Regions from separate parts of the Homo sapiens genome. Here region 1 is linked to region 2. The links are contacts of gene promoters, found by promoter capture Hi-C in blood cells and fetal thymus (Javierre and others, 2016). All regions are on one chromosome and are shown on one strand. The core of a region is centred on a gene start or on the middle of the fragment in contact, and the rest is flanking DNA. Distances in the headings are between cores, read along the strand shown.

Region 1 (6,933 bases), core at 3,777-6,276, 110 kb before region 2:
CTGCTCCTCCAGAATTATGGGCTCCTGTCCATTAAATATCTGTATCTGTAGGTGGTTTCAGTCAGAATACATGGCTTTTATAGAAATGAGTAGGAAAAAACTCTACTGAGAACTCCTTTTTGTCAACATCTGATCTCAACTAGCAAGTAAGGTACCAAAAGGTTTTGAAATGACATGAGGGCACAAAAATTGGTGGAACCCTCAGGTGACCATTGTCTCTTTCCTCTGGGATCTATATACCTACCACAATACCTATTATTTCCAGAGAGGAATGAGGGAATTGGGGAGACAGTTGTCACCAAAGCAAAGAAGCAGACAGGAAATGGGAGAGTTATTTTTCTTTCTGAACAAATCCCTCGCCTATAAAATAAGAGGTTTAGATTACATAGTCTTTGATGTTTCTTCCCTGTGCTTTAAAGGGAAATAAAAACTAACATGTGTTCCTAAGCACCTGATATTATATCATTTTACACAGTCTTCAAAACAACTTTGCAAAGTACTATTATTATACCCATTTTGCCGATAAAGGAACTAAGATACAGACAGGCCGGGCGCCGTGGCTCATGCCTGTAATCCCAGCACTTTGGGAGGCTGAGGCAGGATGATCACTTGAAGTCAGGAGTTCAAGACCAGCCTTGCCAACATGGTGACACGGTGAAACCCCGTCTCTACCAAAAAATACAAAAATTAGCTGGGTATGTGTGGGGGTGCAGGCCTGTAATCCCAGCTACACAGGAGGCTGAGGCATGAGAATCGCTTGAGCCCACGAGGCAGAGTTTGCCATGAGCGGAGATCACGCCAGGGCACTCCAGCCTGGGCAACAGAGCAAGACTCCATCTCAAAAAACAAACAGAAAACAAAAACAAAAAACAATACAGAGAGAAAATAATTTGCACGGGTCACACAGCCAATCAGTGTAATGATCAGATTTGAACCCAAGCAGGATGATTCCAGATCCTGCAGTCAACAGCTGCGTTCTGCTTCTTATCAGGTAAAGCAGGTCTCCCAGAGTGACACACAGAACACACAAAATGAAGAGTGGCCCAAGATCTGGAAATGATCCAGGGTTTGTGAGCATCTGGCACTGGAATCAATCCAAAATCAATGTTTAAATAACAGTTACCTTCACCCCCAAATTGTCTCATTGTCTGACTGCTGAATTTGAATCAGGGCTATGGAGAATGCTGCTTTGTGGTTTACTATACAGTTTAAAAGTCACCATGCCTATACTGACAGCCCAACAAATACACACACAGAGAGAGATAACTTTAAAAAAAAAGAAAAAAAAAGAATTTGGAGTGTAGAAAACAGCTTGGTTGCATTTCTAGTGCACCAACCCCAGAAAACCCAGAGGCTTCAGAATTTGATGAGATTTTTGCAAAGTGTGTTTTCACTACAAAAATGAATTAGATGCCCCGAAGAGCTTCCTCTGTTCTTTGCTTGGCCAAGCACTTGCTGCAAACTTCCCTGAGGGGTTTACCCAATGGTGAGCCTGTAGGAGGAAAAACCAGGGCCCTGGGCTTATTTTTAAAGGAAAAAAAAAAGTAAAAGTTTAAAAAATAACCCCTCTTCATCCATCCTTAGAATTACACTTTCCAGTGAAGTCTAGTACCCTTTCCTGGTAGATATAATCCTAATTAAAAATAAATTACATGCTGTATAGAACTTGAAATGGACAAGATAATCCTATTACATATGAGAATATATCCTGATTTTCTTTCCCGCTAAACTGTGGGAGATATCAGATCAGTCTGAGCCCCCCATTGTCGCCTCTTTGAAAACTTTCCTGGAGCCCTAATCCATCACGTGACGCCCATGTCAATCTTGGTGTTTGCACGCGAGTTTCACAATGCCGGCATTAGGCTCGGTAACAGAAACCCAGCTTTGCGGAGCCCGCAACATTTGCATTCCGAGAAAACGCCGGCCATTGTGGAGCTGTGTTTGTTCTCAAGATTGCGAGACAGTTGCCGGCGAAGTTGCTAAAACCGAGAGAAAGGGGCTCCTTTGGGCCTGCCCAGACCTTTTGGTATGATAACAAGGCGATTCGAGCGGCTTTTGTGAGGCCTGATCAGCACCCGGGCGGGCGAGCTCCCCTCCCTTTCCCCTACTCCTCTCCAGCGCCACCTCCCCGGACATATTTTCCTTCCCGGGGAGTTGCTGCGGACGTTGATGTGCTATTTTAAATCGTATTTCCATAATCGAGTGGCTGTCCGCTGCCGGCCCGGAGCTCACGGTGTTCGCGTGCCTTCACACCTCCACCGCCGGCACGGAAAGACCTGTGCGCGCCGGTGGCGGCTGGAGGCTCGCGGCTCCCTTCCCGGGCTCCCCGGCTCCCAGCTCTCAGCCTCCCGGCGCCGCCGCCGTCGTGGCTACTTCCGATCGACGAGGGCCTGGCCGCGGAAAAAACACTTTAGACCTGCTACCAGCCACCCTACACCCCTCCTCCCGCCTCCTGGCTTTTGCCTGCCCCTACTCCCCTTTCCTTTTCCCACTTTCAAGCACGCCTTGGTTTATTTCAGCCTTGAGAATGAGCATGCTGACGCGGAAGCACTTTGAGTAGAAATTGCAAGTAGTTCCGAATCTCTGGCCAAGCGAAAAACCCAAACTTAGCGCGTGGCGGGGCTCCCGAGTCCAGCCCAGAACTGCGGGGTGCAGATGCGCAGGGGGCGCTGGCGCGAGGTCCGGGTCCCAGCCATTCGCGGCCGGGCTGTGCTCGCGGAAACCGCTGAAATCCCTTCCTTTGGGACTCCGGCCCCATTTCCACCCACTTTCCCCACCTTCCGGGTCCTCCGCCCGGCAGCAGCAGCGCCAGGCGGGCCTGACCTTGCCCTGGGTACGCCAGCGGAAGCGCTGAGGCCGCTGTCCACCAGCCAAGTTCTGAACCTGTTCCCGTCTGGGTCTCCGGGGGAAGAGGGGTGAGGAGAGATGACGTTAGCCTAGGGGCGCTAAAGGTCACCAGCCAGCCCCAGGTTGGGGTGGGAGTGTTGCGGGGCTCGGAAGGAAAATAGAAAGTTCCTTCGACTGCGTGTACCCCCCAAGGAATATCTCTTGGGCGGGGACGGTGGGAGGGCTACATACTAAATCGCACTTGGGAGATGGAAGACAGCGGAAGAAAGGGCTGCGATTTGGGCTCCTGTAGGGGGCGCTCCTCCTTCCACGTCCCCACGCGGCTGCAGATGCCTGGCCTTATTGCTTTTAGCATTCCCAAGACTACAAGGTGGAAGAGGTGGAGAAGGGAACCCAGAGACACACCCCTCTGAGGAAGTCTCCAGCCACTCATCATCCCCCTCCCCAGTCTTATAAGAGCTTGTATTTATGGATGGCTGGAGCTGCATGTTCCGCTCTCTGACAATTCCAAGCACCTCTCATCCCTGCCACCCAGCTCCCTGCTTGGTCTCCCTACTCCAAGGAAACTCCTGACCCTCTTCTGAAAAAAAACCCAAAACACACTCCCTCGAGTTTGAGGGAAAGGAAAACATGGATAGGACGCTGACAGCAGGACCAAAATCGGGATTCTGAAGAATGTTTACTGAATTCAATCTACTTACCAAACCTATCGCCTAAAAAGAAAAATTTCTTCCAGTGAGTGGCTTTTGTTTTTTACCTTTCCTCCTTCGTGTGTATTTGCATAGCCTGCTCAATAAAGCCCTTCAGTAAGAATCATTAAGAATCCGTCTTGTTGCAGATCCGAGCTCCATCTCCCTGGCCGTCAGGGATGGGAGGGGGCTATCTGTGGGGCAGCGCAGCGCCCGGCCAGCCCCAGGATCCGCCCAGCCCAGATTTTGGCAGTGCCGAAGCTCCACACTTTCCTAAGCAGATGGTTAAGTTCCCCCCACGTTCCTGCCAGGTTTCAACGTCACGCTGTGATTTTGTTCTTCTGGAACCGGACGAGTGTTGCTTCCCAGAGTGGCCCTATTAGAACAGAAAGAAAATCCTCTAAATAGGCGGAACAAGGCATCAGGAGGAAAAAGTTCTCTAAATGCACTTTAATACGAGCCGGGTATTGTGTGGAATTCAGCGCCCATCACCGTTTAGCCGGAGAGTTATGGCAGTGATTGGGGATGAATAGAGGAACATAATGGATACATGTGGCGTTTGCTCATTATATTCAAGTTAGTCCAACTCCGCTGTGGAAACTGTTCAACTTTCTCTCCCCTTAGCTTGTCACAGTGAAATAATACAGACATTGGGGCCTCCAATGGGATCGCCTGCCACACCATTCTATTTCCACTGCTAACGAGGGCTTCATAAGCCTTTGATACAGTCTGATCTTTGAAACCTTTCCAAATCTCCTCAAGCTTATGCTAAATCCTATTTGGAACTTTTTTTTCCTTGCCTGCTAGCTCCCAGGGCTTAAGAAGGCCACTTGGACAGTGACGTGCATACTAACATATCGCGGGGCTCTTTTCTGAAAGGGAAGTGGCAGCTCTGATCACTGGGGCTCACACGAGCAAAACACAATTGAGTACACAAATTTGAATAAAATCAATTTTCCCTTATCCTTCAGGCTTCTTAATCGAGAGGCTATTCCAGGCACCGTAGCTAGGAGAGAAGGAAAGCAGAGCCTCATTCAGCAGAGCAAGTCTGTGGGTAGGGGGCTGCAAGGGTTTGGAAGCGTCAGAGGTGCAAAATGCAGAGTGTGTGTGTTGGCAGGGGCTGGGGGAAGGCGGAATCAGGAGCCACTGGGGTGAAACCCCAGCGTGTTCGCACTTAGTTCTAGCCGCGGCACGGAGGGAGGCAGGCGACAATTAACAAAACCATCCGCTCCTTTTACTCCTGGAGCCCTGTGCCAACTCCTCTACATGCAGGGTGCTGACAAGAAAAGGGGGAAAAAGCAAAAGGAGTTAAACAAAAGAAAGATTCCCTAATTTTCCTTTCTTGTTTTCCCCTCTAAGCCTTTCCACATTAAAGGGATTGTCAGAGGCAGGCGGAGGGGCGACGCGAGGGGGAGGCGGCCATTGGCTACCCGGCTCGGGTGATTAGCATATCGGCGGCTATAAAGGCAAAGGCGGCGCGAGGCGGCGCAGCTTCTGTAAGAGACGGAGAGGCGCAGAGTGAGGGCGGGTCCGCGCGTCCTCAGAGCCCGCTGGAGGCTCGGAGCTGCTACCCGCAGACTTCTCCCGCACAGGGCTCGCAAAGAGCGTGATTCCGAGAGCCTGAGACTGACGCCCGACCTGGAAACCAGAGAAGACTTCCTTAGCCTTTCGGATCGCACTTGAGGCTGGAGGCATGAGTCCTGTGAGGCGTTGGGGCAGCCCCTGCCTTTTCCCCTTGCAGCTCTTCAGCCTCTGCTGGGTGCTCTCAGTGGCCCAGAGCAAAACAGTCCGATACAGCACCTTCGAGGAGGATGCCCCCGGCACGGTCATCGGGACCCTGGCCGAGGACCTGCATATGAAAGTATCGGGTGACACAAGCTTCCGCCTGATGAAGCAATTCAACAGCTCTCTGCTCCGGGTGCGCGAAGGCGACGGGCAGCTGACCGTCGGGGACGCCGGCCTGGACCGCGAGCGGCTGTGTGGCCAGGCCCCGCAGTGCGTGCTGGCCTTCGATGTGGTCAGCTTCTCGCAGGAGCAGTTCCGGCTGGTGCACGTGGAGGTAGAGGTGAGGGACGTCAACGACCACGCGCCGCGCTTCCCCAGGGCCCAGATCCCGGTAGAGGTGTCCGAGGGTGCGGCAGTGGGCACGCGCATCCCCTTGGAGGTGCCGGTGGACGAGGACGTGGGCGCCAACGGGCTGCAGACCGTGCGCCTGGCCGAGCCGCACAGCCCCTTTCGCGTGGAGCTGCAGACGCGAGCGGACGGCGCTCAGTGCGCAGACCTGGTGCTGCTGCAGGAGCTGGACCGCGAGAGCCAGGCCGCCTACAGCCTGGAGCTGGTGGCCCAGGACGGCGGCCGCCCGCCGCGCTCCGCCACGGCTGCCCTCAGCGTGCGCGTCCTGGATGCGAATGACCACAGCCCGGCCTTCCCGCAGGGCGCCGTGGCCGAAGTGGAGCTGGCGGAAGACGCGCCCGTGGGCTCCCTGCTTCTCGACCTGGACGCAGCCGACCCCGACGAGGGACCTAACGGCGACGTGGTGTTCGCATTTGGCGCCCGCACCCCGCCGGAGGCGCGCCGCCTCTTTCGGCTTGACCCGCGATCAGGCCGCCTCACCCTGGCCGGGCCCGTGGACTACGAGCGTCAGGACACCTACGAGCTGGACGTGCGGGCGCAGGACCGCGGACCCGGGCCCCGCGCTGCCACCTGCAAGGTCATCGTGCGCATCCGAGACGTCAATGACAACGCACCCGACATCGCCATCACCCCGCTGGCCGCCCCAGGCGCGCCGGCAACCTCACCCTTCGCCGCTGCCGCCGCCGCCGCTGCACTCGGGGGAGCGGACGCTAGCTCGCCGGCGGGAGCCGGGACGCCGGAGGCTGGTGCCACTTCGCTGGTGCCGGAGGGGGCGGCGCGCGAGAGCCTGGTGGCCCTGGTCAGCACCTCGGACAGGGACTCGGGCGCCAACGGGCAAGTGCGCTGCGCCCTCTATGGGCACGAGCACTTCCGGCTGCAGCCGGCCTACGCGGGCAGCTACCTGGTGGTGACCGCGGCGTCGCTGGACCGCGAACGCATCGCCGAGTACAACTTGACGCTGGTGGCCGAGGATCGCGGCGCGCCCCCGCTGCGCACAGTGCGGCCCTACACGGTGCGTGTGGGCGACGAGAACGACAACGCGCCGCTCTTCACGCGGCCGGTCTATGAGGTGTCGGTGCGCGAGAACAACCCGCCAGGCGCCTACCTGGCCACGGTGGCCGCCCGCGACCGGGACCTGGGCCGCAACGGCCAGGTCACCTACCGGCTGCTGGAGGCCGAGGTGGGCCGCGCCGGGGGCGCCGTGTCCACTTATGTCTCGGTGGACCCAGCTACCGGAGCCATCTACGCGCTGCGCAGCTTCGAC
Region 2 (7,039 bases), core at 4,465-6,964:
AGTCCCAGCTACTCGGGAGGCTGAGGCAGGAGAATCGTTTGAACCTGGGAGGCGGAAGTTGCAGTGAGCCAAGATCACGCCACTGCACTCCAGCCTGACAGAGCGAGACACGTCTCAAAAAAAAAAAAAAAAAATCCAATACCCCCAACATCTTCCAGGTTCCTCTAACCTGCTCTGTTCGTTCAGTGCTGATGGGGAGTCTTGGCTCCTTCATGTTCTCCAGCCCCAAATGGTCGCTGCTCTTATAAATTCTTTCTTGTATTCCTCATACAACTGATATCAACTTCTCCCACACTCCCTAAGCCCTGCTGGCTCCTCCAGCCTCTTTGTCTCAGCAGATGGTCTTCTCGGCTTATTTACTGGCACTATCAAGTACAACATCTGCACTTGAATTTTCACAGCTCTTCAACTTAACATGTCCAAAACTCATCCGGTGCTTTCTACATCTACTCAGTTGTTTGTGCTTGATACATGAGGTCATCCTGACTTCCTCCCTCACTCACCTCACACTCAGCCAGTCTCCAGAGCGTGTTGATTCTACCTCCAGCATGGATCTGAAATCCTAATGGACTCCTTCGGATTAATATTTCTTCCCATCTATATCACTTACAATTATTCTAGTTCAGACCAACATCATATCTTGCCTGGACCACTGCAAGAGCTTCCCAAAAAGTCTGCCTCTGGGCCAGGTTCATTGGCTCATGCCTGTAATCCTAGCACTTTGAAAGGCCAAGGGAGGAGGATCGATTGAGGCCAGCAGTTCAAGACTAGTCTGGGCAACGTCACGAGACACTGCCTTTACAAAATAAATACATGTGTATATTAATTAATCAGGCATGGTGCATGCCTGTAGTTGTAGCTACTCAGGAAGCTGAGGCAGGAGGAAAACTTGAGCTCAGGAGTTCAAGGTTACAGTGAGTCTCTACACTCCAGCCTGGGCAACAGAGCCAGACCCTGGCTTTAAAAAATTAAAATAAGGTCAGGCGCAGTGGCTCACTCCTGTAATCCCAGCATTTTGGGAGGCAAAGGCGGGCAGATTACCTGATGTTAGGAGTTTGAGACCAGCATGGCCAACATGGTGAAACCCTGTCTCTACTAAAAATACAAAAATTAGCTGGGTGTGGTGGCGGGCGCCTGTAATCCCAGCTACTCGGGAGGCTGAGGCAGGATAATTGCTTGAACCCGAGAGGCAGAGGTTACAGTGAGCCGAGATCATGCCACTGTACTCCAGCCTAGGCAATAGAGAGAGACTCTGTCTCAAAAAAATAAAAATTAAAAATTTAAAAAAAAAAAAACTACCCCTTCTACTTTGCCCACTCCAGTTTGATTATTCTGCCCCACAGTGGCCAAAATGATATTTTTAAAATGCAAACCAGATCACACCATTCCACTGCTTTAAACCCCTCAATGACTTCCTGATACTGAGAGGAAATTTTTCAAAATTCTTAACATAGCCTAGAAGACTTTATTAGCCAAGGTAACTGTCTCTCTCTGTAGTGTCATCTCTGGCCATTCTTTCTTTTATTCTTTAAGATCTAGCTTTCCCTTTTTCCAATGCCAAACTCTACCATTTCATGGCCTTCTAACATGCTGTCCCTCCACATTTCCCACACCCTTTCACCCATCTCCACCTGGAAAATTCCCCTTCTCTCGGTTTTCAACCTAAATGACACTTCTTCAGGTGCTTTCCCCATTCCCCACTCAGGGTAAATTAGATGTTATATGATCTTAGTGTAGCCTATGTTTTTCCCTCATACTGTGTGTTACAAATGCAATGACATCATATTTTGTGATTACCTGCTTAATGACCATGTTTTCCACTATTCTATAAGCTCATCAAGAGCAGGGGCCATGTCTCATGTGCTCATTACTGTGTACCCAGACCTGGCACAGTGCCTGAGAGCAGAGTTGGGTTATAACTTCCAGGGAATGGGCCTACAGGTGGGCCCAGCAGCAGAGTGGGTAGAAGAAAGCAAGCCTGTGAAAGGGGGCACCCCTTTGATTTCATTCTTCACGAGTGTCTAAGTTCATTTTGTGCTGCTAAAACAGAATACCACAGGCCGGTTAATTTATAAACCAAGCTTATTTGGCTTATGGTTCTGGAGGCTGGGAAGTCCAAGAGTAAGGTGCTGTACCTGGTGAGGGCCTTTGTGGCAGAAGGTGGAAGAATGAGAGAACACATGCCCATGTGAGAAAGGGAAAGGGAGCCAAACTCATCCTTTTATCAGGAACCCACTCTCATGATAACTACCCCACTCCTGCAACAGTGGCATTGATCCTTTCACAAAGGCAGAACCCTCATGACCTAATCATCTCTTAAAGGTCCACCTCTCAACACTTGCATTGGGAATTCAGTTTCCAGCACATGAATTTTGAGAAACACATTCAAACCACAGCAATGAGCCTCCCAGTCTTGCTCCCTTACTGCTTTTTCTACTGCCTTTTCATTATCTATAACCATCATCATGTGAACACACTACCTTAAAATTGTTGAAAATATGCCACTTTAGGAGAATGTGCTCAGAGGAGGCAACTGATCTCCATACCCACTCCTCACCCCTCACGCCCTGGTCAGCTACTTTCTGTATATTATGTGTTAAAAATGTATGAATGAGGCAAGGTCTTGCATTTCCCCTGATTCCTCACCCTCTCTTCAATGTCTGTTTGGCCCCAAAGTATCCACTCACCACTCACTCCCTCCAGTCCTTCTCTCCTTCTCAAGGTTCATCAAGGGAAGGTGGTACCTTCCTTGATCCTCTAACTCCCCTCATCTAAAACTTCCTTACATTCATCCTTCTTCCCCTCAAGTTGAAAGTTGTTAAAAGAATTGTCTCCATTTGTAGCATTCACTTCCTCCCCACCTACTCACTGTTATTTAGTGCTTTATTCACTCAATTCCTGAATAGCTAATGCGTGTTCACAATATAGAATTCAAAACATTTCAGAAGGTTCACAGTTAAGCATCTTCTTTCTACTGGTCTCCCCAAGCTTCACATTTTCCTCAGAGGCAACCCCCACTACCAGCATCTTATCTTTCCAGAAAGCATATACTTACATTTATTCTTGTTTGTATTTCTTTATACAAATGGAAGCATTTCTACGCATTTTCTACCTTTTGCTTTTTTCACTTGAAGTATCTTAGAGAGTGTTCTATCTACATCACTACATCCAAAGCTGCCTCATTCTTTTAAAGGGCTGCCAAACCCCCACGGTGAGAATGGATCATAAATTGTCTACTCTGGACATTGAGTATATTACTAGTGCTTTGTTCTAACAAACATGCTGCAGTGAGCATCGTTGCACCTGCAGGATTTTTCCACCCTTGTGAGTGCATCTGTAGGATAAATCCATAGAAATGAAACTGCATTTTGCATTTTGGAATTAAATTGTTCTCCATAGAAGTTGTACCAATTCACCCACTACAGTAGTCCATAAATTCACTGCCCCTCATATTTTTCAACAGATTGTTTTAACAAGCGTTTTTATGTTTTTCCAGTCTCATAGGTGAACCAGTCTACTTTTAATTTGCATTTCCTTGTATGAATGCAGTTGTGGCCAGGCGTGGTGGCTCATGCCTGTAATCCCAGCATTTTGGAAGGTCAAGGTGGGCGGATCACTTGATGTCAGGAGTTCGAGACCAGCCTGGCGAACGTGGTGAAACCCTGCCTCTATTAAAAATAGAAAAATTAGTCAGGCATGGTGGCTGGCGCCTGTAATACCAGCCACTTGGGAGGCTGAGGCAGGAGAACCACTTGAACCTGGGAGGTGGAGGTTGCAGTGAGCCAAAATCGCACCACTGCACTCCAGCCTGGGCGATAGAGCAAGACTCTGTCTCAAAAAAAAAAAAAAAAAAAAAAAAAAAAAGGCAAAATAATGCTGTTGTTCATTCTTCTTACATTTAAGAGAAATTTCTACTTCTTGCTTCACCAACTCTCTGTTTCCATTCTTTGCCATTTTTTCTACTACATTTTTGGTCTTTTGGTTTTCCTAGGAAAACACTATATAAGAAAACTAGTTCCTTGTCTGTGGTATAAGTTGCAAATATTTTTAATCACTCTGTAACCCTTTGCAATGTGTCTTCTGTGCCCAGGGAAGCAAATGGAACTACTCTCTCGCTGGTTCCCATGGCCTCTTGGTTGTGCCCTTCCAAGGCCTTTCTCTGTGCTCATTTTTTTTCAGCATTTGACACTGCTGACCCACCCTTCTTGAATGTGCCTTTAAAATTACATGTACTACTTTATATTGTACCATCTCCCACCTCTCTGACAGTTACTTCTCTTATTCCTTCACCAAAATTCCTGTGAAGAATGCCCTTGTGAAAAGAGGTCTTTGAACTCTGCCTCAGCAGTGCCCCAGGGATGAGCCCTGGCTGGAGATCTTGCTGGAGTTTTTTCCAAGCACCTTAAGTCTAGTGTGATGTGCAGACAGCTGTTTCCATAGCTGATTCCAATGCAGGCTCAGGACATTTCCTTGGCTCTTTTACTTTTCATCCCCACATCAAGCTCAACATGTCTAAAACTGTTTCTTCCAATTTTTTCACTTCCCTAGGGTTCCTATCACTCTCCCAATCCTCCTAGGTCTGAAAACTCAGTTCCCACAGCCCAGGAATTGCCAAGTCCTATCGATTCTTCTGTGAAAGTGGTCTCCTCCACTTCTCCCCTCCTTCCCAGCCCCAGGTCATCATGCTTGTCACCTCATTCTTCATCACATGTCTTGGATGATTCTTCAACACTTTCTCCTTCTGCAGTCCTGCACATGCAATCTCCCGCTGCCCTTTGGGGAAGCCTCAATCCCTCTCATGCACTAGTGCTCCTCACTTACACCTCACCAGAGAGCTCTGCACAAAGCTAGAATCGAACGCAATTTAAGGAAGCCTGGATCCAAATGAAGTACCATGTATCCTGGAACTGGAAGATGGCATTTCCAAAAGTGAAAATTTTATATACATACATACATACACACACACACACACACACACACACACATTTGTGTTATTCCTTTGGATACATCAGTACTCTGTGTGTGTGTGTGTGTGTGTGTGTGTGCTTTGCCATTGTTGCTTTTGTTTGCACTTATTTAATTTATTCAACCAACCAGCATGCACTTTTATTCTGGTCTCCCCAACTCCTTCCCTCCAGCCCTGCTCTGCTTAGCTCTCACTTTTGCTGCAGTTGTACCCAGACCCTAGAAAAACTGGTGGCAAGGAGCCATCCCTAAGACCCTGCTCTGTTTTCCAGTCCCAGGGGCCATCCAGCAATGCCAGGCCAGTGAGAAGGTGGCCTAACCCTTACACTCTTAGGCCAGTGTCCCCTGTCCACCTGCACCACTCTGTTGTCTTCTCCTTCACCTTCCATGAGCCATCTTCCCCCCACCCCCACCCCAACACACACCTACAAAGACCCTGCAGGAAATGGCCTCCAGCCAGTTGTCACAGCAGAGCCCGCTGACATTCTAAGACATCCTCCGGTGCATGGCTAATTGCTCTGGCACTTGAGTATTTCTTTGGGTCCCAGGATTCAGCATCCCGCTCTGAGGGATGCAACCACCCCCACACATTCAGAGTCACCGGGATGCTGTTTGGGGGGCCAGTAGACAGGATAGAGTGAGGAGGAAAGGGGGCATCCGGGAGTGCAGGACGAGCTTCCCGCGGCGGGAGAGAGAAGGGAGGAGAGAGGTGAGGCGCTGGAAGGGGTGGGGACCGCTGGGCTGGCCCAGGCGGGACCGTGCACCGTGTGTGCGCGCGGCGTTGAAATGCCCTGCACGTCGGGGCAGCGGGACAGATCCCAGGGTGCCCAGGGAGTCTCCAAGTGCCTCACTCCTCCCGCCGCAAACATGACAGAGAACTCCGACAAAGTTCCCATTGCCCTGGTGGGACCTGATGACGTGGAATTCTGCAGCCCCCCGGTGAGTACCGCCAGGGATTCCACACGCAGGGCCTGGGTTGTGTGAGTATCAGGTTCCACAGTTCGGACTCAGGGGTGCGTGCCACCGAATGGGTGTGTTGGCGGGGGGATAAATTTGGGTCCCAAATGTGTGGGTGGGATGTCGCCCCACGCGTATGAGTGTGCAGGGGTCACGGCATCCACAGGCGGGTGCGGAGGGACGTCCCGTGGCCGGTAGAGGGTGCAGGTCCTGGGGCGAAGGCCCTGTGCTGCGGGGTTTGCTCATCCCACTTCCACGCCCGACTGCAAAGGACCCTCGGGAGGGAGCGCGGCGAAAGGGGCACCCGTAGGAGCCCGGGCGAGCTGTTTCCCGCCCGACTCCCCACTCCCTGGGGGCTACCGCGTGGGGCCCGGGTGCGCTGGGGGCCGCAGGTGCTGGCGGCACAAACGCGACGGTCCCTCTCCCGCCCCGGCCCGCAGGCGTACGCTACGCTGACGGTGAAGCCCTCCAGCCCCGCGCGGCTGCTCAAGGTGGGAGCCGTGGTCCTCATTTCGGGAGCTGTGCTGCTGCTCTTTGGGGCCATCGGGGCCTTCTACTTCTGGAAGGGGAGCGACAGTCACGTAAGTCCAGAGGGCGGCGCGCGGGGACCCCCGTGTCGCCCATGGTGCCCCTAGGGGGAGCCCGAGCGCGGGCCGGCGAGGGGCGCGCGGCTGCCGGCGGGCCCCTCGGGCCCAGCGTGAGCTCCCCTCTCCCATCCCACTCTGGCACGCGGCTTTCCGCCTTAGGTCAACGTTGTAGAAAAGCAAGTGAAGGTTTCACGGGAGAAGATTGAAGCGTAGAGTAGGGGAGAATGTAGTGGACGGTCCGAGAAAGGCCGTTCTCGGCTCATCTCCCACTAAGCAGTGGCGCGACCGTGGGGAAGGCACGTCACCTTTTGGCCTCAGTGTACTCGTCCTGAAGGGAAAAAATGGAACTGGACGATCTCTAAGGCCTGTCCCTGCTAAGAAAGGCTGTGGGTTTAAAATCCAGGACAAAGATAGTGGAGGAATATTCAGACCCATATTCAGACCCATTGGGAAGGAATTTTTGCCTTTCAGAAGGTTTTTTTGTGACCTAGCCATGAACATTCCCTTCTCTCTCTGGAAAACAAAAACAA

Evidence for each region. Contacts are between HindIII fragments. The CHiCAGO score rates a contact against its expected background, and 5 or more counts as called.
Region 1: a contact is called between the fragment with the promoter of PCDH8 here and the fragment with the promoter of CNMD in region 2, in 2 of 17 cell types (endothelial precursors and erythroblasts). The highest score is 6.7, in endothelial precursors.

What each region holds. Positions count from the first base shown.
Region 1 is chr13:52,846,733-52,853,665 of GRCh38, reverse strand. It overlaps PCDH8 (protocadherin 8), which reads left to right and starts at 5,026. Exons shown (of 3, transcript NM_002590.4): 1 at 5,026-6,933. The coding sequence starts at 5,230. RefSeq lists enhancers at 2,114-2,323, 2,998-3,292, 4,638-4,932, 5,063-5,952, 5,953-6,841. The HindIII fragment of the contact is 1,116 bases long and covers 4,301-5,416 here.
Region 2 is chr13:52,738,495-52,745,533 of GRCh38, reverse strand. It overlaps CNMD (chondromodulin), which reads left to right and starts at 5,714. Exons shown (of 7, transcript NM_007015.3): 1 at 5,714-5,904; 2 at 6,363-6,503. The coding sequence starts at 5,833. The HindIII fragment of the contact is 4,345 bases long and covers 2,991-7,039 here.